Linked DNA regions of Homo sapiens: all the other regions are linked to region 1. The links are contacts of gene promoters, found by promoter capture Hi-C in human tissues and cell types (Jung and others, 2019). All regions are on one chromosome and are shown on one strand. The core of a region is centred on a gene start or on the middle of the fragment in contact, and the rest is flanking DNA. Distances in the headings are between cores, read along the strand shown.

Region 1 (5,739 bases), core at 2,246-4,745:
ATGAAGGAAAGGGGCAGGAATAGAATGAAAATAGTCTCCATAGGGCAGAAGCACAGGAAAAACGCATCTGTTAAGACTATAAACTCTACGCTAAATTCAAAAGCACATTGTAGAATACAACGGAAAAAGATTACTTTTTACCATATGGATTGCAATAAACAGTACTGTCAGAGCTTGGTGATTTTCCTGATAAAACAGCTTCTCCTGGAAACTTACAAAATATGGTGAAAAGAATGTCCTTTTAGCTTTACTAACAAAGAACCTTCTATTTCAGTTCAATCTTAACCAGTACTCTTCAGAAACTTCTGCTTTGTAGCTCCTCACCATACCGATGAATCTGTTGATGACCCATTGTATTTTATATTAAAAGAAGGGGAAGAATCAAATCTCACCCCATGCTGCACCACCGTTTCAGGGAAGCGCCTCAAAAGTAGAAGCAACATTTCTGATCGTTCTAACGTGTTGAAGCATTGTTCCGTGACCTTTAGTAACATTTCACACTGGACCCGACCAGGAAGAGTTTCAAATAAACCTGTACGAAACATATTTCACTTTTAAAAGTTTCTTGCGGACAGAAAAGACTGCAGCAACAGTGCTGAGTAAGGCATTTTCATGTACAGAACAGTAAACACTACATGTGAAATCAATGCAGTTAAGTTTCACCTACAACCTGGCAGCCTTTTGGAGCCAATAGTATCTGGCACAGGATGTTTGCTGAATAATGGTAAAATATTTGCAAGACTGATCAAATTCAAAAAACAATGATGTATGTGAATGGTCACAAGAATGCCTGTTGCAGGTTGAGATAGAGAGCATGTGCTTGTTGAAGTTCAAATGACCTATGCATCTACTTGCTATTTTATCTAGAGTTTGAAATCTTTGATTGACTACAGCAACATACAGAAGTTTAAAGAGAAAGCTTCTAAATTACTAAAAGCTTCTCTCCTGTTTTGTGGAGAGCTGGTTAATCTATAGCTGCTATCTGGTTATTGTAAAACCTGTTAAAAATATATACAATTAATTCCTCGTCTCACTGATAAATCCATATCCTTTAAAGAAGCTTAAAGGGTTCTAAGCAAGTCAAGGAACCGAGTGACATTATTATAGACTTTGGTTGCCAAGAATAAAACATACATATGGTTACCAATACCCCAGGTGTGACTTTTTTGTGTGTGAAATTACTATATATGATTTGGTATTCCCGAAATGGTAACTTATACACCATTATTCTTACTTCTTAAAAATTGGGTTTGTTTGTCCTGTGAATCGTTCCTTAATGCTGATGTAATAATGCTGATTTCTCTCCACACCACCGGCTGGTCTGGGAAATTCACAAACCTATTTTTAAAATAAATACATTAAATTAAAATGTCAAAGTCTATACAGTATCCAAAAGAAAAAACGTTAGCATTTGGTGAAAAAGTTTCCTTTATTCCAAGTGAATGCTTAGACGTGCCAAAACAAACCAAAATAAAAATGTAAAAATAAGAATTACTTGATTTATAAAAATGAGAGTACTCACATAAGTCTTTAGTGGGTTTTATAGGTGAAAAGACAAGTAACCATAACATAGAAAGAGCTTCTAAAAGTCAACAAGAATAAAACAAACTATTTGAAAGAAAAAATAGGCAAAGGCAAATCACAGAATACACACAGCCAAAGAGAACAGTTGAAACAATACTGAATCTTATTAACAGTATGAGTAGTACAAATTTTTTTTTAAAATAGCAAGATACCATTTTCTCCTATCACAGTGACAAGAACTAAAAAGAGACTAATAATATCCAGTGTTGGGAAGGGTATGGGAAAACACACTCTTTATACACCATTGGTGGTAATGTAGACTGGGATCGCACATTTTGGAGAGTAATTTCATAGCGTATCAAATTTTCAAATGCGCATAAACTTTGACTATGAAAATGTCTTAGAATCTATTCCACAGAAAAACACCAAAATATGACTACAAAATTGTTGACACACTGAATATAATTTCAAATAATTTAAAACTATCTATTTAAATGTCTACCAAGAAGAGAGTGTCTACGAAATACTACACAGGCATGAAAAGGAATGAAGTGGATCTCTACATACTGATATGGGAAGGGGTCCATGAGAGTGAGTAAAGGAAACATGCTGCAGGGCAAAGGTAGTATGGTCTTCTCACTTTTGTAACCCCTTCCCCCCAAAACCTTATTTATGTATTATGCATACATGTATAGATATACTGCCTACAAAACTTAACTCTGGTTCAGTTTAGGATGCACTTTCACTTTTTGTTCTCTATAACAAGTAGTGTTTGAATTTTTGTAATGAGCACATATTATTTCTAGAATAAATTATGAAACAGAAGTTTTAACAAGGATAAAACATAAGAATAATAATTAAACTCTTCTGCAAAAGCCATGTCAGCAATTTATGGCAGGCCTGGACTCCTTACTAGGTTTGCTTTAGGTATCGAAGATATAGATGAACTTGAAGATCTTCCCCCAACTCCCACTTCTGCAGAGAGAAACAAAACCTCATGGAGAGATTCAGTGCAGTAAAAGTGATGTCAAGCGTCCCACTCACATGTCGTACAGCAGCCTCCCGGCGGTGGCGGTCCGCTCTGCATTCCGCTCGATGGTGTACATCTCATACTGCAACACACATCAGGCACCCTGGTCACTCACCCCTGCCCAGAAGGCTCCCAGCTCATCCAGCATCGCTCGTTGGCCCTCCTGCAGGAAGGGAGGGCCTGAGAGTGAAGCTCCGCCTGGTGACACAGCGCCACATACATGGCAGACTTGCCATTGGGCTTAGAGTGTGACCCTGGGGTTCACCTGCAATCTCAGGCTCCCAGGATTAAGTAGGATAATATTTCCAAAGTCGCAGGCCCTGAACAAACTGCTGCCATTATGATGAATGAAGGAGCGAATGGCCTTTTGCTAGTGGCGATCATGTGCTGTCTAGGCCAGATGGCACGCTGAGCCCCAGGGACCTAAGCACACCCGACCTCAAGCGGGATCGGCCGTCTCTCAAGTGCTGGGGAGAGGGCTCCTGGAAGGTGTAGGAGCAAGGCGGGTGAAAGGTGTAGGAGCAAGGTGTAGGATGGGAGGGGAGAGAGGAGGGGGTGGGAGGGGAGAAAGCAGGGGGCCGGGCAGGAGGCGGCAGCCCCCAGGCAGGCGCAGCTCTGGGCCAGGGCAGCCCGGGCGACGGGAGCGCGCACCTCCACGCAGAGCGGCCGCATGCACAGCCGGGACCTCACCTGGATGTTAAAGTCTGCCGGGTAGAGGCTGCGGGCCGTGATCAGCCACGCCTTGGCTGCCCACAGGTCTTGCGGCACCAACTCCCGGGCTCGCTGCACCAGGAACTCGCAGTCCCCCTGGGCAGACATGACCCGAGCGCTCTCCAGCCGCCAGCCCGAAGCGGCCGGAACGTCCGGCTCTGGACTCTCAGCCGCCACGGCAGCCACCGCCGCCGCCGCCGCCACCGCGGGGGAGGCTACTGCGCATGTCTGGAGGCGCACGGAGGCTGGCAGAGTGGATCGGGAAAGCTTTTCCGGGTTTTGCGAGCAGTCTCCTCCCCTTGGCTCCTCGTTACCGCCCGGTCCCCTCCTCTTCTGAGAAGCCAGAGCAGTTGAACCGCTTCCAGGTCACCTCGAAAATGCGGAGAAGTGGATTTTCATTCCTGCGGGCTGCAGCGTGACCTTGGTGAAGTCAGGGAGCATGCGCGGGAGCGGGCAGGCGCCAGGCCTCTTCGCCATTTCCATCCTCTCTGGGTATTGCTCAGTTTGTCGGGGGCGGGGGCGGAGGCGGGGGCGGGGAGACGGGCGGTCCCGGGGAATGGGCGGTCCCTGGGCGTCCCCCCGGCGTGGAAGGTTGAGAAGAAGTTTGAGAGGAACAGCAGAGGGTCGGGGAGGCGGCGGGAAGCACTCTCCACCCGGGCCGGCCTGAAACACCTTCCCCGGGGGCCGCTGCCTGCGACTCACTCCCCGGGCTTCGATTTACGCGAAAACTCCTGGGGCTGGTGGGGGTGATCGTGCAAAGCGTGAGCTCCGGGGTTCCTTCTCTTTCCGAAATCCGTCCACGTTTTATTATTTCACCTTTATGCACCGGTTTCTCCAACAAACGTTTATTGAGCAACGAAGTACTTGGAAAGCGCTTTGGTGGATGCCGTCCGTGGGAGCTGCAAAGATGACTAAAACCCTGACCCAGCAAGGGTTTTATATGTTTTAAATGTTCTGGACGTGAAACCCACAGAAAGATAACTACGCTATTATTATAATTATCTCCTCCAGCCACAATCAATGTCCTTTTCACCAAAACTCCAGATTTGTTTTCCATCTAAGAGATGAAAAACATCTAGGAGATTCTCCATCTAAGAGATTCTCTTGCCTCAGCCTCTCGAGTGGCTGGGATTACAGGCGTCCACCACGACGCGCTAGCCCGGCCAATTTTTGTATTTTTAGTAGAGACGGGGTTTCACCATGTTGGCCAGGCTGGTCTGGAACTCCCGACCCCAGGTGATCCGCCCTCCTTCGCCTCCCAAAAGTGCTGAAATTACAGGCATGAGCCACCGTGCTGGGCTTCGAAGCACTGTTTAATATCTCCTACTTATGCACAGAACAGCATAACTGTATGATTACTTTATGGGCCAGGATTACTCAGTGATACAGTTATTTTGGGTTTGTAGAATAGAAGATGGTAGAAAATTGGATTTAAACGGAGTAGGATAATTTTTATGTTATAAAGTGTACAGCATAAAAGCAGATTGCTAGCTTGAATTGTTAAAATTATTTCATTGATGTTAATATATGAAGTGTAAGAATTTTCAAATGGTAAAAATGACTGATTTGGTCATTAAACTTTCTGGTTTTGGTCTTTACCAAAAATAAAAAAACAACTCCACACTTGTTCCTGAGCCTAGTGTTCTGTGGAATAACAATTGTAAATTAAGATTTTAAATTTAGAGGCTAAATAAGGAAATTCTGTTTTTGTTTGTTTGTTTGTTTTTGAGACACAGTCTTGCTCTGAAATCCAGACTGCCAGTGAGTGCAGCAGCTCGATCATGGATCACTGCAGCCTTGACCTCCCAGGCTCAAGCCATCCTCCTGTCTCAGCCTGTGGAGTAGCTGGGACTACAGGTGTGTGCCACCACATCTGGCTAATTTTAAATTTTTTTGTAGAGACACAGTCTCCCTATGTTGCTCAGGCAGTTCTTGAACTCCTGGGCTCAAGTGATCCTCCTGCTTCAGCCTCCCAAAGTGCTCGGATTACAGGCATGAGCCATTGCGCCCAGCCTCTGTATGTATTTTAGATGCCAACCTTGAGAGGGCCTCTAGACTTTTTGCCAGAATACAACGTAAGGTTTGTGGTTATTTTCTAGTCAGCTTCTTGATTTTGAATGGTCCCCAGCTAAACATTTCTCCTACAGTGTTATGCTGGCATCTCAAAGTACAGAAGGGAGGTAACACACCAAGTGAGTTTACATCTTTTGGCCTCCTTGCCATGATCTTGACTCACTGGAGACTTGAGGCGCCTAGCTCATGTTCTTCTCCATGACAACTTTTTTTTTTTTTTTTTTAAAGACGAGTTTTGCTCTTATTGTCCAGGCTAGAGTGCAGTGGCACAATCTCAGCTCACTGCAACCTCTGCCTTCCGGTTTCGAGTGATTCTACTGCCTCAGCATCCCAAGTCGCTGAGATTACAGGCGCCAGCCACCATGCCCAGCTAATTTTTTTTTTGTATTTTCAGTAGAGAC
Region 2 (5,739 bases), core at 1,364-3,863, 450 kb after region 1:
CATCAGGGAGGGAGAGCTGTGTAAATCATAGAGCCCTTGGGAGAGCTGCAGCAAGCCTGGACTTGGAGCGCCCTCTAGTGCTGAGATGGCTGCAGTGGTCACAGGCTCAGGAAACAATTTAAGAATTCTAAGTTGCTTTAGAATTTCTGGAAGGGCCTCTGAAAGACAGGCACAAATAAAGCCAGGCTGTGGAGAGTGGAATAAAAGCCTAATCCTTAAATGTGCAGATATTGTCACACATACACAAGCATCAAGAAGACTCAGGACAATATGACCTCACCAAGTGTACAAAATAAGATACCACAGGTCAAGCCTAAAGTCATAGAGATGTGTGATCTCTGAAACAATTCAAAATAGCTGTTTTAAGAAAGCTCAACAAACTTCAAGAAAGAACAGAGTCAATTCAAAAATTTATCAGGGAAATGTAGCAGAAAGACTGAAGTAATTTTAAAAAATCAAATCCTGGAGCCGAAAAATGCAATGAATAAAATGAAAAATGCAATAGAGGGTTTCAACAGTACACTTATTAGTGAGCCAGAAGACAGGCTATTTGAAAATACACAGAGATAAAAAAGAAAACAATGACATGAAGAAAGCTTATGGGGTCTGTGGGACAACATCAAAAGAGTAAATATTGGAGTTATTAAAGAGGGAATTCAGGAAGACAAAGGGGTTAAATGCTTATGCAAAGAAATAATAACAGAAAACTTTCCAAACCTGGAAAAAAATTAATAGCCAAGCATAGGATGATCGAAGGTCACCAGTCAGATTCAACCTACATAGGAATACCCCAAGACATATTATAATCAAACCCTCAGAGTGCAGAGACAAATAGAGGATCCTAAAAGCAGCTAAAGAAAAGCAGCAAATAACATGTAAGACAGATCCAATACACCCAGCAGCAGACTTCTCAGAAGAAACCGTATAGGCCAGAAAGAAGTGAGATGATACATGCTGAGACTGAAGGAAAAAAAAAATGCAACCCAGAATACTGCACACAGCAAAGTATTCCTTCAGAAAAGGAAAGAGAAAGATTTTTCCACACAAACAAAAGCTGAGGGAATTTACCACTACCAGACTTGGCCTATAAGAAATGCTAAAAAATAGTTCTTCAAACATAAACTGGATGCTAACATGATTTTTGTTATAATACTATCATCATGATGTGTAAACCACTTATATCTTTAATATAAAGATATGAAGACTAAAAACGAACTTAATATGAAGACTAAAAAATGAACTATCAAAAATAACTTTAATAACAAGATAGGTAATATAAAAATGTAAGTCATCACTCAAAAATACAAAATGCAAGGAGAGAATGGAGGTAAAGTGTACAGTTTTTTTGTTTCTTTCCTTCACAAAGTTTGTAAGTCTCTAAAATAACTTGTTATAACTATAGGATGTTTTTGTAAGTCTCATGGTAACCACAAAGCAAAAATCTATAACAGATACACCAAAGATAAAAAGGAACCAAAATGTACTACTAGAGAAAAGTGCCTAACCACAAAGACTATAAGAGAAGAAAGGATCTACAGAATAACTAGAAAATAAGAAGGAAAATTGCCATAGTAAGCCCTTACATATCAATAATTACCTTGCATATCAATGGATAAATTCTCCAATTAAAAGGCATAGAGTGGCTAAATAAAAATGAAACAATACCAAATTATACATTGCCTGCAAGGGGCTAACTTCACCTGTAAGGACATGCATAGTCTGGAAGGGAAAGAATGGGGAAAAAACATTGTATGCAAATGGAAACCAAAAGACAACAGGAGTAGCTATATTTATATCATATAAAGCAGACCTGAAGCTGAAAACTGTAAGAAGAGACAAAGAAGGCCAGTATACAATAATAAAGAGTTCAATACAGCAAGAACAGTTATAAATATATATGTACTCAATTAACATGGAAGCACCTAAATTTAGAAAGCAAATATTAATATACCTACATAGAAAGACTGCAATACAACAATAGTAGAGGACTTCAACACCCCACTTTCTACAATGAACAGATCATACCGACAGAAAATCAACAATTAAACCACACTCTAGAATGTACCTAACAGACAATTATAGACTATTCTAATCAACCAGCTGCAGAATACACAGTATCTCAACAGCAAATAGAATACTCTCTAGGAATATGTTAGGCCACAAAACAATTCTTAAATTGTTTTAAGTTAAAACTTATCAAGAAATCAGTAATAGGAGGAAAACTAGAAACAAATATGTGGAAATTAAACATGCACCTGAACAACCAATGGGTCAATAAATAAATTTCAGAAACCAAAAATGTTCTTGAGACGAATGAAAATGAAAACAACATACCAAATCCTATGGGATACAGCAAAAGCAGTTCTAAGAGTGATGTTTATTCCAATAAACACACATATCAAAAAAGTAGAAAGATATCAAATAAGTAATTTTATTGTTGTACCACAAGAACTAGAAAAACAAGAACTTGATGCAACATTAGTTGAAGGAAATATAACAAAGATCAGAGCATAAATAGATAAAATAGAGACTACAGAACTGTGCAAAATATGAATGAAATGAAGAGTGGTTTTAATAACAAAACTCACATAAGTTTAGCTACACAAAGAAAAAGAGATGACTCAAATAAATAAAATCAGAGATGAAAAAGGAGACATCACAACTGATACCACAGAAATAAAAAGATCACTAGAGACTATTATCAACAACTGTATGTCAACAAAATGGAAAACTTGGAAGTAAATCAATAAATTCCTGGACACATACAACCTACCAAAATTCACTCATGAAAAAACAGAAAACTTAACAGACCAATAATGACTAACGAGACTGAATCATTAATAAAGTGTCCTATCAAAAAAAGCCCAGGACCTGATGGATTCACTACCAAATCCTATCAATCATTTAAAGAAATACTAATACCAATTCTTCTCAAACTACTGCAAAAAACTGAAGTTGGAGGAATTCTTCCTAACTCATTCTATGAAGTCAGCATTACCTTGATATCAAAACCAGACAAAGACACAACAAAAAAAGAAATCTAGAGGCCAATATTCCTGATGATGATGAACATAGATACAAAAATCCACAACAAAATACTAGCAAACCAAATCCAACAGCACATCAAAAACATCCTTCACCATGTTCAAAGGAAATTCATCTCAGGGACGCAAGGATGGTTCAACATAAACGAATCAATGAACATGACACATCACATTAACAGAATAAAAGACAAAGACCACAAGATCATCTCAACAGACACAGGTAAAGCATTTACTAAAATTCAATATCCCTTCATGATAAAACCTTTAAACACATTAAGTACAGAAGGAATGTACCTCAACCCAATACAGGTCATATATGACAAAATCACAGTTTACATGCTGAAAGAGGAAAAATGGAAAGTTTTTCCTTTAAAACTTGGAACAAAACAAGAATGTCCACTTTCATCACTTTTATTCAACATAGTACTGAAAGTCCTAGGCACAGGAATGAGTCAAGAGAAAGCAATGAAGCACATCCAAATTGGAAAAGAGGAACTCAAATTGTCTGTTTGCAGATGACCTGATCTTACATACAGAAAACCCTAGAAGCTGCACCAAAAAACTCTTAGTCCTGATAAAATTCAGGGAAATTGTAGTATATGAAATAAACTTACAAAAATCAGTAGCATCTCTATGCATCAACAATGGACTAACAAAAAAAAAAAAAAGCAATTTTATTTACAATAGCAAAATAAAATAAAATAAAATAACTAGGAATAAATTTAACCAAGGAGGTGAAATGTCTTTACAAGAAAAACTATAAAACACTAATGAAAGGCAACAAAAAAATAGACATCCCATGTCCATGGATTAGAAAAATTAATAGTCAAAATGGCTGTACTACCCAAAAAGATCTGATTCAATGTAATTCCTATCAAAATACCAATGATATCTTTCACAGAAAAAGAAAAAACTTTCAAAATTTCTATGCAACCAGAAAAGACTACTACGAATTGCCAGAACAATTTGTAGCATAAGGAACAAAGCTGGGAGGCATCACACTAAATGACTTTAAAATATACTACAAATCTATAGTAATCAAAACAGCATGGTGCTGGCATAAAAACACACACATAAACAATGAAACAGAATAAAGAACCCAGAAATAAATCCACACATTTACAGTCAACTGATTTTCAATAAAAGCACCAAGAACACCTACTGGAGAAAGGATAGTCTCTTCAATATATGGTACTGAGAAAACTAGATAGTGACATGTATAAGAATGAAACTACCTACTCTTGCTATGTGCAAAAATCAGCTCAAAATGGATTAAAGACTTGAATATATGAGGCCATGAAGCTACCAAAAGAAAATACTGGGGAAACACTTGAGGACATCAGTCTGAGCAAGGATTTTTATTTTTAATTTGTTCATAGGGATGACTGTCTCCCTATGTTGCTCAGGCTTCTCTCAAACTCCTGGCCTCAAGCAATCCTCCCACCCCAGCCTCCCAAAGTGCTGGGATTATAGGTATGAGCCACCACGCCTAGCCCCAGATTTTTAAAAAGTAACACCTCAAAAGCACAGGCAACCGAAGAAAAATAGACAAATGGGATTATATCAAGCTAAAAAGGATTCTGCTGCAGCAAAGGAAACAATCAACAGAGTAAAGAGACAAGTTACAGAAAGGGAGAAAATATTCATAAACTATGTATCTGACAAAGCATCAATATAGGAACTCAAACTCAATAGCAAAAAAACAAATAATCCAAATAAGAAAAAACCTCAATAGGCATTTCTCAAAAGAAGACATACGAATGACCAACAGGTGTACGAAAAAAATGCCCAATACCACTAATCAGGGAAATGCACATCAAAACCACAATATCACCTTGCCCAGTTTTTTATTTTTGGTTATCAAAAAGACAAACCAAAAACAAATGCTGGTGAGAATCTAGAGAAAGGAGAACTCTCATAGCCTGCTAGTAAGAATATAAATTAGTATACCATTATAGACAACCATATGAAGTTTCTCAAAAAATTAAAAGTAGAACAAAAGCTCCAACAATCCCACTACTGGGTCTACGTCAAAAGGAAATGAAATCAGTATGTCAAAGAGATACTTGCACTCCCATGTTTATTGCAGCACTATTCACAATAGCCAAGATATGGAATCAACCTAGTTGTCCAACAATGAATCAATCAAGAAAATGTGGTGTATATACACAATAGAATATTATTCAGACATAAAAAGTATAATATCCTGTCATTTGCAATAAAAAAAATTGCTGGTGAGAATCTGGAGAAAGGAGAACTCTCATTGCCTGATGGTAGGAATATAAATTAGCATACCATCATAAACAACGGTATGAAGTTCCTCAAAAAAATTAAAGAGAACAAAAGATCCATAAAAAGAATAATGTCCTGTCATTTGCAACAAAATGGATGAACTAGAGGACATTGTTAAGTGAAATAAGCCAAACACAGAAGGACAAACACTGCATGACCTCACTCTTCTGTGGAATCAAAAAGGTTGATCTTTTTTGTTGTTGTTGAGACAGAGTCTCACTCTGTCATCCAGGCTGGAGTGCAGTGGTGTGATCTTGGCTCACAACAGCCTTCGCCTCCTGGGTTCAAGTGATTCTCCTGCCTCAGCCTCCAGTGTAGCTGGAATTACAGGTGCACGCCACACCAGGCTTATTTTTGTATTTTTAGTAAATACGGGGTTTCACCATGTTGGTCGGGCTGGTCT
Region 3 (5,739 bases), core at 1,194-3,693, 420 kb after region 1:
TGCAGAATTAACATTGCTGAAAATTTAATCACTGATGGGAAAAGGACAGATGCAAGAGCTCTCCCAAAATACAACAGAAAAGAAGGGAGAGATGAAAACAATGGGGGTGAGAATACCAAATGAAAAGCAAAGAAAAATCCAACATTTATAGCTATTCCCAAGGAAGAGAAAAGCTAAATTCAAACAGATTATTTAAAGATACAGTCGTTGAAAACGTATGTTCTAAAACAAAACAAAACAAACCCTGTGAATTGCAGCCTGAAAGGAAAGCATGTACCACGTTCTGGATAAATATGAAAGCAAAGAGGCCCCATGGAAACATATCCATGCATAGCCCATGCATTTGTGTCTTCTCTCACCAAATAGCAGGAGCCCCAAAATATGTATGTGTGGGCCATAAACATGTTAGAACTCCAGTGCATTAAGAAAACTGCCTTTACAAAAGGTGGCAGTTGCAAAACTTTAAGCCATGAATTTTTCTTTTTTTAATCTAAAAGCAGATTTCATGTCATATTAGCAAAGGATGCTTAATTCCAAAGCATTAGCTCAGATAGGCAATTTTGGGTGGAAATGTCCCGGAGGTATTTTTGGTGACCTGACTGACCATTGCCCATCTACTTTTTTCTTTCTCTGATCCTTTTTTTCCTAACTTGCCCTGTGTTTTCTCCATTTTTAGGGTAAGCTTTGGGCCAGAAAGCACCTTTTTTTTTTTTAGACGGACTTTTGCTCTGTCACCAGGCTGGAGTGCAGTGGTCTCGGCTCACTGCAACCTCCGGCTCACTGCAACCTCCGACTCACTGCAACCTCTGACTCCCAAGCTATCTCCTGCCTCAGCCTCCTGAGTAGCTGGAATTACAAGGCATGTGCCACCAAGCCCAGCTAATTTTTGTATTTTTTTTTTTTTTTTTTTTTTAGTAGAGACGGGGTTTCACCATGTTGGCCAGGATGGTCCCGATCTCCTGACCTCGTGATCCACTTGCCTTGGCCTCCCAAAATGCTGGGATTACAGGCATGAGCCACCGTGCCCAGCCAGAAAACACTTTTTCAGACTGACTAGCACTGCTGGTGACACTCAGGGCCAAGCGACCTTCCTTGTGCATCCTACTGCAGCAGGGTAGGGCAGGAGGCCAGAAGCAGGGTCCTTGCAAGTGACCTGATAGGTCTGTGAGCATCTGGCAATACGGTGGCAGCCAGAAAATCTTACATGACTGTGGGCGGGAGATTCCAGAATTGTGGGAGAGAAGAATCTAGATGGGCAGGAGTATTTGGCCACAGTCCCAGTGAGTCAGGGTCTGCAGACCAGAGCCCCTAGGCTTGAGAACCAGGACAGTAACATGAAAGCAGCATTCCTAGACCCAGAAACCTTGCGCAGGCAGGTCAAGGAGCTGGGCTTGCAGAGGCAACAGGAGGAGGAGACCAGGGTCAGAGTTTGGACATCTTCACCTCAGACCGTAACTCAGGGTAAATGTAGGCAGGACAGAGACCACAGCACTGCTCGGATGACCATTCAGGCCTCCTGAATTCCATTCGGTTGAATTCAGTTTCTGAAATCTGTAAACCATTCTCCTTCCCTAAGAATTTCAAGTGTCATTCGTGCCATCATATCATCCAACACTGGACAGTGTATTCCTCTATCAATCAGCAACCAACAGGATAAACTAGTCCGGAACCCACATCTGCTCCCCTGTGTAATATTGGGTGAATTCAGTTGGGTGACTTCCTGTTTTCTAAATCTTCCTTTAATAGGATGTTGCTTTGTGTAGTTATATCTGGATATGGCCACAATTATTTCCTACAAGATAACTGTAGGCACAGGGGGGTATTGGATTTTTTTTTCCCCCAGCACGTAGTCTTGCTTTGTAGCCAGACTGGAGTACAGTGGTGTGATCTCGGCTCACTGCAACTTTCGCCTCCCAGGTTCAAGCAATTCTCCTGCTTCAGCCTCCAGAGTAGCTGAGATTACAGGTGCATGCCACCGTCCCCGGCTAATTTTTGTATTTTGAGTAGAGACGGGGTTTCACCATGTTGGCCAGGCTGGTCTTGAACTCCTGAACTCATGATCCACCCACTTTGGCCTCCCAAATTGATGGGATTGCAGGCATGAGCAACTGCACCTGGCCAGTACTGGAATCTTACATCTTCCTAATTATTAGTGGTGACAAGTGGGTACTTTCCATTCATTCCAGTGAGAAGCACTAGAACCTTAAAATTTCAGAATTGGATGAAAATAACAAAGATCACCCAGTTGAATCATATTTTTTTTTGTTCAGAAGCAAAAACTGAGGCTCAGAGACAAACTGTCCTGTCCAAGATTATACAGAAAATGGTAGGAAGAGTTGAGAAGTTTCTCAATAATGCCATGACTGTTGAATCATAGGAACAAAAGCCAAGAGATGGATCCTTACAATAGTTTAACAATATAAACCACATGGAACATTTCAAGAAAGAGTTAAACAATGATCTATGTTTAAAAGCTATCTCTACCTGGCATAGTATCTCACATCTATAATCCTAGCACTTTGGGGGTTTGAGGCAGGAGGATCGCTTGAGGCTGAAGTGAGCTGTGATCGCACTACTGCATGCCAGCCAGGGTGTCAGAACAAGACTCTGTCTCTAAAAATAATAATCACCATCATCTTTCTCATTAGAACACACATGCCAACCATCCCCTTCTCTGGCTACATTTTATAGTCAATGAGTGCTGTACGCAACCAACAAGCTTGTAACAACACTGCTGTATCATTCTGCTTTTATTAGAAGGCAATGTAAAAGAGTATTGACCTACACAGTTAGGCCAGAGGTACTAGCCAATCTCCATCCTCCAAGAAAAATGATCTCCAGTGGCTCAGAGCCACCTCAGTCCCTGTCCAGAGGCCGTTCGCCTGACTGGGACTGGACTGAGGTGGGCGGGGGTTCCAGGAGGGCATAAGATTCCTGACGGGACAAATATGTGTGCCAGGGCTAAACAGAACTGGCTGGAATGTTTTTCTTACCTCCCATTTCTACTTCATTATGAAAATGGTGGACTGGGCAGCAGTGAATGGGTCGATCTTGTGTGTCAGGTTATGTAATTACATAAACGACTGTATTAGCTTTCTGGGGCTATAGTAACAAGTCAGCATGAACTCAGCATGAACTAAGCAGCTTAAAACAACAGACATTTATTCTTCCAGTTCTGGAGTCTGGAATTCTGAAGTCAGGGCCATGCTTCCTTCTAAGGCTTGTGGGGAACCTGTCCCATGCCTCTCTGCTGGCTTCTGCTGGTGGCCGGAGATCCTTGGTGTCCCTTCCCTTCCGGCTGCATCACTCCAACTTGCCTCTTGTCCCCTGGTCTTCTTCCCACTGCATTTGTGTCTATTACCAAAACTCTCTCTTCTCCTAAGGATGCCAGTCATTGGATTTGGGGCCCACCCTAATCCAATGTGACCTCATCTTGACTATATCTGCAAAGACCCTATTTCCAAACAAGGTCCCATTCACGGGGATGGGGGTTAAGACTTCACCATATATTTTGGGGGAACACAATTCAACCACAAGTAGCATCCAAACAGCCTGCTTATTCTGTTCTTGTCTAAGCACTTCTGATAAAAAATAAAAAAATACATGTACAGATGCTTTATCCTTTTGGTGCACTATAGAGTATATCCAGGGGAGGCCAGGCCAGCCCCGGCCCCATTCTCCCGAACAAGAAAACAAACTCAGCGATGTTTGCTCACTTTCCTGCAGGTCCATCTGTATTTTCATGCATGTTAAGCCTCTCATTCAATTTACATTCATGACTTCTGTTTTTCTATGTCTCTCATGTCCTGGTTCCAACATGTACAATAAGTGAGGTGTGTTTTAAGCATCATCTCAGCCAGGAAAGGCTTTTGCTACCATTCCAAAGCCAACATGAAACTTCGAAACTTCATGTCAACAGGCCCCTGAAACCTCCTGAGATGATACAGAGGGAGTGCAGGGGTCATATGATAGATATTCGTTTTCAAGTACACCTTAATTTCTAAAAGTTTTCCATTTCTTCATTTGTTTTATTTTATGTACATCATTAAGGTCATACCCTTCATGACAGGTACTTGCTGAAATTGAGACTCTTCTCCCTTTTGAGCAGAGGTCATTTTCTCTTGACATTGAATTCCAGTATTTGTGCAGAAAAGAGGTGTCAATGAGGACTCCATGGATACTTTACTTTCAGTTGATCAGTATTGGCTCTGCTGCAGGGTGATTTTGGCTTCACACATAAATGTTGCAGTGGCATTTGTCCAGGGGAAAGCCCGCTTGGAGGCTGTAGGATGACCCTGATGGAGGCTGTCACTCAAACAGCTCCAGGTAGTCAGGCAGCTGGTCCTGCTGACCACAGGGATAGAGAAGGAGCTCCTTCCCCAGGGAAGTGATGGGTTCCTCCTGTCAATCAGAAGGCACGGGGTCAGATAGTGTAAGTAGTGACCACATGCTCTTCCTACTTCCTCAGAGGACATCACTAGCTGCCTACCCATGATTTACACAAAGCTTTTGTGGTTTATGATCATCTTAAAAGGCATTTTTCTTATCTACATGTGACCAGGTACTCCTTTCCCTTCAGGGCTTGAATTCTAACTTAAGGCCTATGAATTCTCATAGGTCAGGGGTCCCCAACCCCAGGGCCATGGACCAGTACCAGTCTGTGGCCTGTTAGAACTGGGCTGTATAGCAGGAGGTGAGCAGTGGAGTGAAGCTTCATCTGTATTTACATCTGCTCCCTGTCATTCACATTATCGCCTGAGCTCTGCCTCCTGTCAGATCAGTAGCAGCATTAGATTTTCATAGGAACACAAACCTTATTGTGAACTGTGCATGGGAGGGATCTCAGTTGTGCGCTCCTTAGGAAAATCTAATGCCTGATGATCTGTCACAGTCCCCCATCACCTCCAGATGGGACTGTCTAGTTGCAGGAAAACAAGTTCGGGGCTCCCACTGATTCTACACTATGTTGAACTGTATAATTATTTCATTATATATAACAATGTAATAATAAAATGCACAATCAATGTAATGTGCTTAAATCATCCTGAAACCATCCCCCAACACTGAGTCCATGGAGAAATTGTCATCCAGGAAACTGGTGTCACAAAGTTTGGGGATTGCTGTCATATGTGATCCATGTGGGTACAGCTTTTATTTTTTTGTTTTAGCATTTCCCGTATTCTCTGCCCCAGTGGGGTTCCCTGAGTATTTAAGGAAGAACTAGGTTCTAAGATAAATGAAATGTGATTAACAATCCTGATTATCAGGAAGAATTATCAAAGACAAGCCCCCACCCCTGTCCCCTCCCCAGTACTTGTCTCAGTCCTTTTCTTTGTAATTGTCATTCATTGTTAGAGCTGCTACAGGACAGTAACTCAGAAGGCAAATTAAGTTTATGCATTGCTTCACCTTGTGATATTCCACCAAATCCGCCAAGGTGGCATGCTGTAGCTGGTCCACGCCCAGGAAGCTGTAGGCGTCTGCAGAGGCATCGATGAGGAAATGTTTACAGCCGTCCTCCGACAGATAGGACAGGGCATAGCCTTTGATCCTTTCACTGACTCGGATGAGAAAACTGCCGGGCATGCCTGTGCTCAGAAGAAGTTCATTTGCTTTCTTGAGTGTGAGAATTCCTGTGGCAAAGCAAAAAAAGGCAGGTATTTCAGCCAAATCATTCCAGAAAATCCCCTCTGTTAAATCCAGCTGCATGGATATAGAGTCAATGACGCCTAAATAAGA
Region 4 (5,739 bases), core at 2,657-5,156, 400 kb after region 1:
TACAGAGAGGTAATTTCACACCTTCATAGTTTCCATCACTGGTTTTTGGAAACTGGTATTGTTGCATTATGGATGCAGTACAGTTTCTCTTGATTTTTGCAAAATCCTACAAGGTAACAAAGGTGAGATTTATGTTCCCATTTGACAGAAATCAGAATGGGGTGGCTCACCCCAGAGAGGGCCAGAGCAATTCCCTGGACCTTGCAGGCAAATAAGGTCTTTGTGAATTTGAAGTGGAAACTCCCAGTGTGCTCCCAGTGCCCTTCCCGTCATGCCACCGTTCCCTTCCCATCATGCCACTGTTCCCACACATCACAGTGTTTGGGTAGACGTTAGCATTAAAGGTGTCACTGGCAAGGTGGCTCTCAAAGGAATATTGGAAGGACTTCTCTGCTAAGATCCTGGCTGCACAGGTGATGGATAGTGGATGCACACAGCCCCCAAGGGTCCCTGTAGGGTGAGATGTCTCTGTTGTCACAGGCAGTTAGTCCACTTTGCAGAGAAGCAATGCAAGCAGCAGGAGGAAAGGCAAGCCAGAAGAGGATCTCTGTGTCTTCTGGGCATGGCCCCCATGGATGGAATTTCCCGGTATTGTTGACAGCATTGGCAGAGAGGGAAAAGGCCCTTCTCCCACCTCAAGTTGGGCTGTGATTTTTTCCTGCGGGGAGATGAGCCAGGTTTGTCTGAAGCTGTGTTCTGGCCCAGGCTGTATCTCATGGTGGCCTTCCCATCTGAGGGACGTCTGTTCTTCTTTGCTGTGGGTAGCTCTGCCTCTTGCTAAAGAAAATCCATGCTTCTTCCCACTGAGGACCCCTTAGGGTGGAGGAAGGACATCTGCTGTGGGAACCTGAAGACACGATAGCACCAGGCCTCTGATGCTTCCGTACAATGGGAGAGTAAACTGATTTCCATCCAAAACCCATGTTCTGGATGCGTTTGAGGATTGACTTTGTGTGTAAGCTTCTAGAAATAGCAAAACCTGTTGTTTCCAGCCCCATCCTGTGCCTTTCATCCTCTCTCCCCAAGTTAACCTCTGGCAACTGATATTATGATATTTTCCAGAAAGTTTCAACTTTGGGGCCCTCAGGTTGGACAATGTCATGTCTTATATCCTAGCATGGCTTCATTTTGGGGTGCACCAGGTTTACTAATAATACAGTTCTCTTTTCCCCTAGTGGAATTGCAATACCACAGATATACTGTGTATCTGTTTTTGTAGTGTATCTGTATCTGTGCTTTATACATAAAAACAGTAAGAGTTTTTCACGTCTTAAGAATCAGTTTTCAGCTGGGTTTGGTGGCTCATGTCTTTAATGCCAGCACTTTGGGAGGCCGAGATGGGCAGATCACTTGAGGCCAGGAGTTTGAGACCAGCCTAGCCAATGTGTCAAAACCCATCTCTACTAAAAAATAAAAAATTAGGCGTGCATAGTGGCACACACCTACAGTCCCAGCTACTAGGCAGGTTGAAAATCGCTTGAGCCTGGGAGGCAGAGGCTGTAGTGAGCTGAGATCGCACCACTGCACTCCATCCTGGGTGATGGAGTGAGACCCTGTCTCAAAGAAAAAAAAAAAGTGAGTTTTCATCTATAGTCATGTGTTACTTAACAATAGAGAGATGTCATGTATCGTCAGGCAATTTCATCATTGTGCAAACATCATACAGCGCACTTATGCAATCCTACATAACATAGCCAACTACACACGTAGGCTGTATGGTACAGGCTGTTGCTCCTAGGTTACAAACCTGTACAGCATGTGACTGTCCTGAATACTACAGGCAATTGAAGCACGATGGTATTCAGTATCTAAACATAGAAATGGCACAGGAAAAATATGGTATAAAAGATTTTAAAAATGGTTCCCATGAGTGGAGCTTGTAATACAGGACTAGAATTTGCTCTGGGTGAGTAAATGAGTGGATGGTGAGTGAATGTGAAGGCCTGTGACATTACTGTCCACTACTGTGGACTTTATAACCACTGTAGACTTAGGTGACACTAAACTTATTTTTTAAAAGTTTTCCTTGGCCGGGTGTGGTGGCCCACACCTGTAATCCCAGCACTTTGGGAGGCCGAAGCAGGTGAATCATGAGGTCAGGAGTTCGAGACCAGCCTGGCTAACATGATGAAACCCCATCTCTACTAAAAATTCAAAAATTAGCTGGGCATGGTGGTATGCGCCTGTAATCCCAACTACTCCACAGGCTGAGGCAGGAGAATCACTTAAACCCGGGAGGCAGAGGTTGCAGTGAGCCGAGATCGTGCCACTGCACTCCAGCCTGGGCAACAGAGCAAGACTCTGTCTCAGAAAAAAAAAAAAAAAAAAAAAGTTTTCATTTCTTTAATAATAAGTTAACCTTGCCTTCCTGGGTGATCACCATCTCATATGCAGCCTGTTGTTGACGGAAATGTTGTTAGGCAGCACATGAGTTACACTTACAAGAAAATGTTTTTAAATCTTTTACATCAGATTTTTCCTGTACCTTTTCTATGTTCAGATACACAAATACCATTGTGTTACAATTGCTTATGCTTACAGTTGTGTCGTTAAGCAGCACGTATCACCCTCATTGACAGAGAAACTTCTCGCTTCCTTTCCCAGAGTTCTAAGCTTCTAATTGGATTGAAAGGGAAACAGGATATAGGATTTATTTTCTTTCTGCCAATCAAAGTTAAAGTTCCTTTGGGTTTAAGTAATGTGTTGTTTTGCATTTGACATAGAATGTGATTAACATTTCCATTTCAAATTCATAAAGACCTTATTTGCTTGCAAGGAATTGTTTTCGTTTTACAATCCAAAAGATTTTTCTTTGTATTATTATTCCTGCAGGGTAGGAGTTGCGAAGGGAATCAGAGGCACAGTGCAGTTAGGCAAGTTTCTCACATCCTCAGAATTAGTGGTGAAAGCAGAAACCACTCAGATTCCCTGTGTCCATTGTTGCCACAGGCTGTGAATTATCCTGCAGCCTCTGACATTTACTTCCAAATGCAATTTTGACCTTTCCTAGACCACAGAAGTCTGATATTTTAGAGTTCAGTATTTATGACTATTTAGTTTGGTGAAACAGCAATTCTTCTCCTTGAGATGAAGGACTCCCCCTTCCCAAAAGAAGAGTATGCTTATGTTTTTTACTGGACAAACCAGTTCTTGAGTGCTCGCTGCCTACGGGGGACTGGCCTAGGTGCGAGAGGAGAAGTCAGAAGAAATGAAACGCTTTCATTACTTGGTAGTAATTTGTGAGAGTGTTTCCTCACTTTCTTCTTTTTATAGAGGTGAACTGGCTTGTTCAGGATTGTACAGCTAGCTAGTGGCAGAGCTCAGGGCAAGAGATTTCCTTCTATCAGTACAGAGGCAAGAGATTTGCTTAGGATCTAGATGAGAACTGACGTATGAAGGAAAAGTCTTGACAAAAATTCCAAAGGAGAACTTGAAACTATAGAAAGTAATAGAATGGAGATGGATTATTTAGGTGGGGAGAAGATGTAAAATTAAAAGTAATGGTTGGAGATGGATCAGTTAGTAATGACTTCCTACTAAGGGTACGTTCTGACTCAGTCTTGAAAGAGATGGTACCTATATATTAATTACTACATCCTTGATAGCCTTCTTGGAATACATCAGTATCAAAGGTGAAGGGAGAACAGAGATCCAGAATGCTGCTCTAATGAAAGTTAGTTTTGCAAACAAAAGACAATCTTTACTAGCAGCCTTTGAAATAGGATCACATTAGTCAATGTATGTTATTCCTTCTTGTGACTGTTGCCACTGTCATTTGATAGTGTTTTGCCTGCAGACAAAAGCAAGAAACCACATTTATGATAGTGTGTGTGTGTGTGTGTGTGTATGTGTGTGTTTTGACTACTGTTTTTTCCTTGTATGTATAGACCAGCAGTAATTCATATTAAGTGAAACTATGGGATTTTATACTAACATTTAAATTTTTTTAGTTTAAACCATGAGATAAAACTTGCTGGTGCTTTCATGTGTAGAAACAGTTCGCTGAGAAAGGAATGACTATAATTTAAACAAACATTAACTTTAGACGTTTCACATTCCTGGTTCAAGCTTTGCCAGTTCCTGTTTAGGTCACTGCAGGAGCCTCCTACCACTTCTATCTTAAGCCTCCTTCCCTCCCCTAGACTCCGGTTTTTTGTTCACCCTCTGCCAGAGATAGGTTTCTAAATCACAGATTCATTCAGTTTTTTAAGCAATCTTTGGGCACAGAGCCAGAGATGTGCTGGTAAATATTTAACAACCTGCTCTCTGAAGAGGGGGTGCAGGAGAAAGACCTGATTTATAGCATTTGCCAATTTCCATGGTGTAAATACTCCCACCGTGGCCTATTTCAGGCTACCAGCATGACGTCACTGAACACAAGGTTGGGAAGAGATTTGTCCAATCCTTGTGAGCTGGTGCAAGCTGGCTCCAGCACAGCACTGCAAGCCCTGAGCCCTTGTTGGGATTCATTGTCTTCCACAGACCAACTCTCAAATGGATGCAGAGAAAATATCTGTAAACCCCAGAACCTGGCACATGGTACCAGCTCCATAGTCACCCAAGCCAGCCTTGTTGCCAGGTGAGCACACCTGCTCAGTCTCCCTGGCTGTCTCTGCTCCTCAAGGCCACCTCCTTATCATTTCTAATGCCCACGGCATCCGACATGCACATCTTAGTCTGCCATGTGGTCTTACCCGTCAGTTAAATCTGATGACTTTGTGATACTGTTCAGTGTGTGCATAGCATGCTGGCTTCTGTCCTTGCCCTCTCTCTGGTCACACCCTTGACCTCTCTACCTCCCTTCAGAAAGTATTTTACTATTGCAGTTCAGTTGAAACCTTTTTGTAAATTGCCAAATGAGCATGGCACATCCTATGCATCCTTGCATTCTGTTTCTATTTATTCAGGAAACATACACCCGCTGAATACCAAAATTAATGTGAACAGAGGCCCTTTATGGAGCCTTTCCAGAAGCCAGTCCGGTGCCCACGTTATCTCACGTAATACTCAATAAGGGGAAGAGGTGCTATTATTCTCATTTCACAGATGAGGAATTGAGGGCCAGATGCCTGTAGCGGCTAAGTGGCAGGGGTGAGAACTCGAGTGCCACACTATGTGACCGCACCTGGGCTGAGGATGCTGGGCAACAGGGGATACATCCTTTGCCCTCAAAGCGCTTCATGGGGGCAACGAGGGCATTTAGTTTTAGATGATAGGTTCCTGGAAATGGCAGAACCTGGATGACTCCTTGTCCAGCATGATTCCCTTGAAGACACAATGTGTTTTCTATGAAAACACCTAGAAAAGACTTACAGGAAATTGTGAATAAGTGCAAATACATCTGGAAGGAGATGGCCTTTGACTGTGTTCTTAAATGAGTCTTCTAAAGCTGTGGATGTAGGATACCTTATTTCTCAAGATGTGGAACTGTCCCCGGAGTCTTAGAATTGTTTTGGGCTTGGCAACATTGGCTGGGTGATCTTGGGCAAGTCATTCTGTCTTCATACTAAGAAGCCACAAGAAGAGGGCATGCAGCCCTCCTGGCACCCTGTGCAGCATGATCACTGAGCCCTCAGGGCCCAGATAGTAAGGAATGGACAGCCTGGGCTGGGGGCCCCCAGCCTGGACACAGACGTCCTCATAGCTCAGGGAGTCTTCTCCTCCCAGGCCAGAAACTGCTATGTAATTGACATGACCCAATACAAGATGAAAATGTGAGCCCCTGATCAAAAGGTATTA
Region 5 (5,739 bases), core at 1,647-4,146, 320 kb before region 1:
ATTTCGATCTTTCACGGGCTATTGTTTACTTCCCCAAGTTATTTCCTTTTAAACCTTTTCATATAGTAGTTACCAGAGCTTACAAGAGTCTTTATTCAAATCTTTCCAGCTCATTTAAAGGAAAATGGGGGGGAAATTCCTCACAGTTTTAATTTGCTCATAAGGACATTGGAAGGAACCAGTTTTGAGCTCCTTCACTGCAGAAGAGAGTTTGGCCTATGGGCCTGTGGGCCTGTGCTTGTCATGCTTGCAAGAAGAGGCTAGAGTTAAGGGCTGTCTTTCTGTAACTGGCATGACAACTCTTCTTAGCGAGTAGCTGGGGCGGAGCCCTGGCCGAACTGCTTGTGGCATGCATAGTATGCTTGCCATACAAAGGTGTGGGAGCTGATGTGGGAATTCCCACTCTTGTTGACGCTCCACACCTGAAGCACTTTCCAGAAATTATGGTAGCGAACCCTACTCACCCCTCAACTCAACTCTGGCTGTCTCTCAGTCCATCCTGGTCTCCAGCCCCTGCCACTTTGAGCCAAGGGGTTTCTTTTGGAAATCACATCCACCCACTCACTGCTCACAGGCTTTGCCTTCACCTGGGTTGAATCACAGATTAGTTCGCCTTCACTCTATCTGCTCACAGCTGTGGCGGCAGAAATTCTTCATAATCAGCATGTTCATGTCTCCTCCCATAATTTTCAGAACCAATACAGGTTGTGGAATGAGCAGGTAGAAGAGATGTGGCCGTCTTTAGAAAGCTGAGATAACTATTCTGACTCAAGTTATAGGATCTCCCCCACTTCACCACTGTTTTCAGTCTTTTTCTTGGGCCAGGCATGATGGCTCATGTCTGTAATCCCAGCACTTTGGGAGGCTGAGGCAGGTGGATCACCTGAGGTCAGGAGTTGGAGATAGACCTGGCCAACATGGTGAAACCCCGTCTCCACTAAAAATACAAAAATTAGCTGGGCATGGTGGTGCATGCCTGTAGTCCCAGCTACTCAGGAGACTGAGGCAGGATAATCGCTTGAACTCAGGGGGCAGAGGTTGCAGTGAGCCAAGATTGTGTCACTACCTCCAGCATCTCAAAAAAAAAAAAGTCTTTTTCTTTTTTTTTCTGCTTCTCCTTTTCCTCCTCCTCCTTCTTCTTCCTCCTCTCCCCTCTTTTTAAAGGTTGTGTATGTAAAGTGCATAAATTTTAAGTGTGTGCTTGATAAATTTATGTGTTTGGGTAACTACCACTCAGAACAAAATATAGAGCACTCTCAGCACTCCAGAAGCCTCCTTCCATCCCTTCTCTGTCAATACTTACCACCTCCAGAGGGAACCTCTGTTCTGACTTCTCTCCCCATCAATTACTTTTGCCTATTCCTGACCTTAATAAATGCTTCTCCCCTTACTCGGGTCTCTCCTCATTTTTCTCATTAGGATTGTATAATTTTCTCTACCTGAATTTCTTGAAGGGGAGTCTGTGACATGTTGGTCCTCTTAAATGCATCGTTTCACTTCATCCCCCTGGGGTGGGCATTGTGGTCCCCATTTTACAGATGAGAACAGCCCGCGAGGTTAAATAATCAGCTTGAGGTCACTTAGTCACTTACACTTACACAACAAGCAGCAGAGCCCAGATTTGACTCAGGTGGGTCTGACTCCACAGTCTGAGGCCTTTCCTTAACAAATCAATCTTTTAACACCTTTTGCTCATGAACAAAATTTAACACAAGGCTTTTTTTTTTTTTTTTTTTTTTTTTTTGCAACAGTGAATTTTATTACTAATGTTTGATTGGGCTGTAGAAACTTTTCTGCATATTTTAAGAAATGTGCTATGTTACCTTCACCTTCTTCCACCTTGATTCTCCTTCCTCCTGAGCCACCTACCAAATTCTGTCTCAACTCTCAAAATGAAATTGGCCTCTGATTTCTAGTATTTGTGACTGACTTGAAAAACCACAAGTAAAGACCAATTCCCAGTATTTCCAGAAGAGGGCGGTAGAGCCCACACTAAATTGCTCAGACACCGAACTAGTAGATTGGATCGGCCTGGACCAAATTCTGAGACTTGAGACTTGATGTACTTTACTTTCTATTAAACAAAGTAATAGGGCCTTACACACACTGGCTTTGGCTTACACATTTTAAGTAAAGTTTATGATATAGTTAGGCTCTGTGTCCCCATCCAAATTTTATCTTGAATTGGAATTCCCAAGTTTTGAGGGAGGAACCTGGTGGGAGGTGATTGGATCATGAGGGCAGTTTCCCCCATGCTGTTCTCGTGATTTGAAGGAGTTCTCATGAGACCTGATGGTTTTATAAAAGTGTTTGGCAAGTTCCTCCTTCGCTCCCTTTTCTCTCTCCTGCCGCTGTGTGAAGAGGATCCTTGCTTCCCCTTCGTCTTATGCCATAACTGTAAGTTTCCTGAGGCCTTCCCAGCCATGCAGAACTCTGAGTCAATTAAACCTCTTCTCTTTATAAATCGCCCAGTCTTTGGTATGTCTTTACAGCAGTGTGGAAAGGAACTCATACAGTTTATTTGCTGTATTCCCTTCTCCCTTCCCTGCTTTTCCCTTGTCCACATCCTTGTCTTCCTTTCCAACTCCAGGCTTCCTGAGACAAAGGTAGTTTCCTTTCACTCTGTCTTGCCTCTGAACTTCTCCTAGCTCTCATAATAAGTGGGTGAAAATTCTGTTTTCTTCAGGCTCTGTTTTTTTTCCCTAAGAATAATCCTAAAAAGTAGCTTACTGGATGTGTCAATGACTTACCTCAAAGTGACGACATTCTAATGGCTGACTTCAGTGCAACAAGCATTGCCTACCATGTGGCTGATACTAATCAGATCTATATGGGATTCTGTAAAGAAAAAAAAAATTAAAAATAATAATAAGCACTTACTGTGTGGTATGATGTGCTTCTTCTAGCTACTCAGGAGGCTGAGGCAAGATGATCACTCAAGCCCAGGAGTTAGAGGCTACAGTGAACTATGATGGTAGTATTGCACTCCAACCTGGCCAATAGAGTGAGACCCTGCCTCCTAAAACAAAAACCAAAAAAACACGCCAGAGTCACTTACCCAGACAGCCATAGCCACTGCCAGTGTCATTCTTACTATTCAGGGTGTAGGAATGGTATCTCCCAAGGCCAGACTGTGGGCTCAAGGGTACTTCTGTGCCACATACGTCTCTTGCCCTCCTCAGAACTTTCCACAATATGTGAGCTGGAAAATCTTGGTTGATTGGAACTTGGAGAGGGAATCCCACTGAGAGTACTCGCTAGCTGTCATTTCCCTAATATGGGTTTAGTGTCTTCATCTATGAAACAGGGAGTTGGTCTTTACCAGCCCAACTATTCTAGGATTCTGCAAATCCTGCTTTTACCTTTTATTAGGGCCTTGGAGAGAAACACCAAGCTGGAATCAGCCAGAGTTCCTTAGGTGGACCAGTGGAATGTTTTACTTACCTGTGACTGGCAAGTCTGTTCACTTCCTGTTTTCTAAGACTTTTGAATATGGATATTTTTTCATGGGACTCCTCAGATCAGTGCTCAGTAGTGAAAGAGAGACAGAGTTTGGGCTGCGGAGATCCCTGGGAAGTTTCCACCACTTCAGATAAAGCTTTAGTTTCCTGATGGCACCAGACTTGGGCCTCTGTCTGACTCTTCAGAAACAAAAGAAGAATTGCAAATAGCATCACTGCAAGGCTGCAGAGAAGGGGAGAACGTGCCTTCTACATTCTTTGAGAGTCAGAAACCAGCAGGGCTTTCCTTGGCATAGGACTGAATTAAAGAAAAAATTCGGGGCCGGGCGCGGCGGCTCATGCCTGTAATCTCAGCACTTTGGGAGGCCGAGGTGGGCAGATCACGAGGTCAGGAGATGGAGACTATCCTGGCTAACACGGTGAAACCCCGTCTGTGCTAAAAAAAAATACAAAAAATTAGCTGGGTGTGGTGGCGGGCGCCTGTAGTCCCAGCTACTCGGGAGGCTGAGGCAGGAGAATGGCGTGAACCCAGGAGGCGGAGCTTACAGTGAGCTGAGATCGCGCCACTGCACTCCAGCCTGGGCGACAGAGCGAGACTCCATCTCAAAAAAAAAAAAAAAAAAAAAAAAAAAAACGAAAAAGAGAAAATTCTGTGTTCAAATGAATGACTTGAGTAGCTCTGTTGATGAAATACAATTACGTCCTGTAAATCCTATGTGAAATGTTATCCTACACTTGATTCAATTCCTTAACATCACTTTCATTCCATTACACAACCTAACTTTTCATCGTTGATCAGACCTGAAATGAGGTTTAATGTTGGGCATGGAAGACCATTGAAAGACGTGAGGGTCAGAGATTAGGCATTAAGAGCACTGGGCACACGTCGTGGGTATTAAACACCTGAAAAATAATTAGTTCTGGCATGTTCATTTTCTAAAATAACCATGTCATACTGGATGGAGGTCTTGCTTCAAAATCAAAGACCTAGTTTGGATTTTGCCTGCCCTAGGAGGCTCTAGGAAGACGTCTTCTCCTCTCTGAATCTTATTTCACGGAGGGTAGTAAGACTTGGGAACTATATTTACCCTTCCTTCCCCAGGGTTGCTGCAAGGATCAGAGGAGGGGAAGTGTGTGCTCGTAATTGTAAAAACCAGACAATATGCCAGTTATGAATGCTAGTCTGCAGGTCACTGTACCCATGGAGTGAGTGGCAAGACAACTATTTTGCTGGTTTTCTGCTTATCCTGGTGTAGAATTCAAATGGAGCCTGAGATGATAGAACAGAGAACATCAGTGTCTGCTGTGGGTCTTAGGCTCTGCCTGTGATGCTTCTTTCTCCTACAAAGGCTACTATAGTTGTAGCTCGAATCCATCAATCAAATGGACCATAGATATTTACAGCCAAGCTATTAAGCCCAGTTTAGATGGGAGGCGTAGACAAGGCACGGCCAGCCCATCCTCCAGAGGCTGGGAGGACCTAGGCAGGCAGTGCAGGAGACGCACAGTATATGGTGGGGACAGGCAAACCCTAGAGGGATTACAGAGAGTGATGATCAGAGTGAGGGGGCAGGGAGGTCTTTATAGACAACTGGGGTCCCAGAAAGTGGGTCCTCAAGGTTGGGAGGGAATCAAATGACTAGATGACAGGTGGAGTCATTCAGAGCGAGGGGCCGCAGTAATCAAAGGCCACGAATTGGGGCAGTGACTGAGGAGCTGGTGCAGGAGGAGGCAGCAAGGCTGGGAGGGTGGGATGGGCTGGATTCTAGAAGCAGATAGCTTTTGGGCCAGGGTCTATGAACTGTCTCCTAAGGCATCAAAACAAAAGGAAAAAAGGCCTGAAAGACTGGCATGGCTGTCACACAGGATGAATGGGGAGCAGGGAGGCCCATGTGGGACCCAGTGGTAATCCTGGCAGGCTTCCTCCCCTTTCAGAGCCCCAGCCATGGGTTCTCAGTGTCTGTCTGCTACAAGGCACCATCAGTTTTTGGGGTTGTAAGCTCTTGTCCATTCCCTTGGTTTCAGCCTCCTACTGTCCCTCACCAGCAAGCCACTCATTGTCCCTGTAGCTGCCCTGTGGCTCTTTCTGTCTTCCTGACAGCCTCACAGAGGGTGGCCCTGGGGCCACGGCTCAGCCCTGGTGGCCTCTGAGCTGTGTCTGTCAGGCAGACACACAGGTACCAGATCGACGGCAGAGCAGGCCAGTTAGTGCCTGGTCCTCCTGCCTGTATGGGACCCGGCCTGCGTTGAACTATGATCTTCAACACTCACAACCACA

What was found. The method cuts DNA at HindIII sites, captures the fragments that hold promoters and counts their contacts. A contact is called where the count stands out against the background at its distance.
Region 2: a fragment that was not itself captured here is called in contact with the fragment with the promoter of INTS10 in region 1 in 1 of the 25 tissues and cell types used here (heart left ventricle).
Region 3: a fragment that was not itself captured here is called in contact with the fragment with the promoter of INTS10 in region 1 in 3 of the 25 tissues and cell types used here (dorsolateral prefrontal cortex, hippocampus and mesenchymal stem cells).
Region 4: a fragment that was not itself captured here is called in contact with the fragment with the promoter of INTS10 in region 1 in 1 of the 25 tissues and cell types used here (spleen).
Region 5: a contact is called between a fragment that was not itself captured here and the fragment with the promoter of INTS10 in region 1, in 1 of the 25 tissues and cell types used here (H1 embryonic stem cells).

Annotation. Positions count from the first base shown.
Region 1 is chr8:19,815,172-19,820,910 of GRCh38, reverse strand. It overlaps INTS10 (integrator complex subunit 10), which reads right to left and starts at 3,495. Exons shown (of 17, transcript NM_018142.4): 1 at 3,245-3,495; 2 at 2,569-2,636; 3 at 1,235-1,338; 4 at 393-532. The coding sequence starts at 3,373. RefSeq lists enhancers at 2,555-2,644, 2,855-2,944, 3,445-3,504, 3,545-3,624 and silencers at 3,125-3,254, 3,775-3,914. The HindIII fragment of the contact is 14,804 bases long and covers 2,297-5,739 here.
Region 2 is chr8:19,366,594-19,372,332 of GRCh38, reverse strand. The region is part of intron 7 of SH2D4A (SH2 domain containing 4A); the gene reads right to left. Among named protein-coding and RNA genes, the nearest start is that of SH2D4A, 56 kb to the right of the region's middle. The HindIII fragment of the contact is 6,040 bases long and covers 1-5,633 here.
Region 3 is chr8:19,393,212-19,398,950 of GRCh38, reverse strand. SH2D4A (SH2 domain containing 4A) reads right to left here. Exons shown (of 10, transcript NM_022071.4): 9 at 5,410-5,633; 10 at 2,733-4,401. The coding sequence ends at 4,309. Among named protein-coding and RNA genes, the nearest start is that of SH2D4A, 82 kb to the right of the region's middle. The HindIII fragment of the contact is 4,332 bases long and covers 278-4,609 here.
Region 4 is chr8:19,412,702-19,418,440 of GRCh38, reverse strand. The region is part of intron 7 of CSGALNACT1 (chondroitin sulfate N-acetylgalactosaminyltransferase 1); the gene reads left to right. Among named protein-coding and RNA genes, the nearest start is that of SH2D4A, 100 kb to the right of the region's middle. The HindIII fragment of the contact is 4,237 bases long and covers 1,788-5,739 here.
Region 5 is chr8:20,130,105-20,135,843 of GRCh38, reverse strand. It overlaps LOC105379312 (a long non-coding RNA gene), which reads right to left. Exons shown (of 3, transcript XR_949563.2): 3 at 2,526-2,838. Among named protein-coding and RNA genes, the nearest start is that of SLC18A1, 50 kb to the left of the region's middle. The HindIII fragment of the contact is 4,316 bases long and covers 739-5,054 here.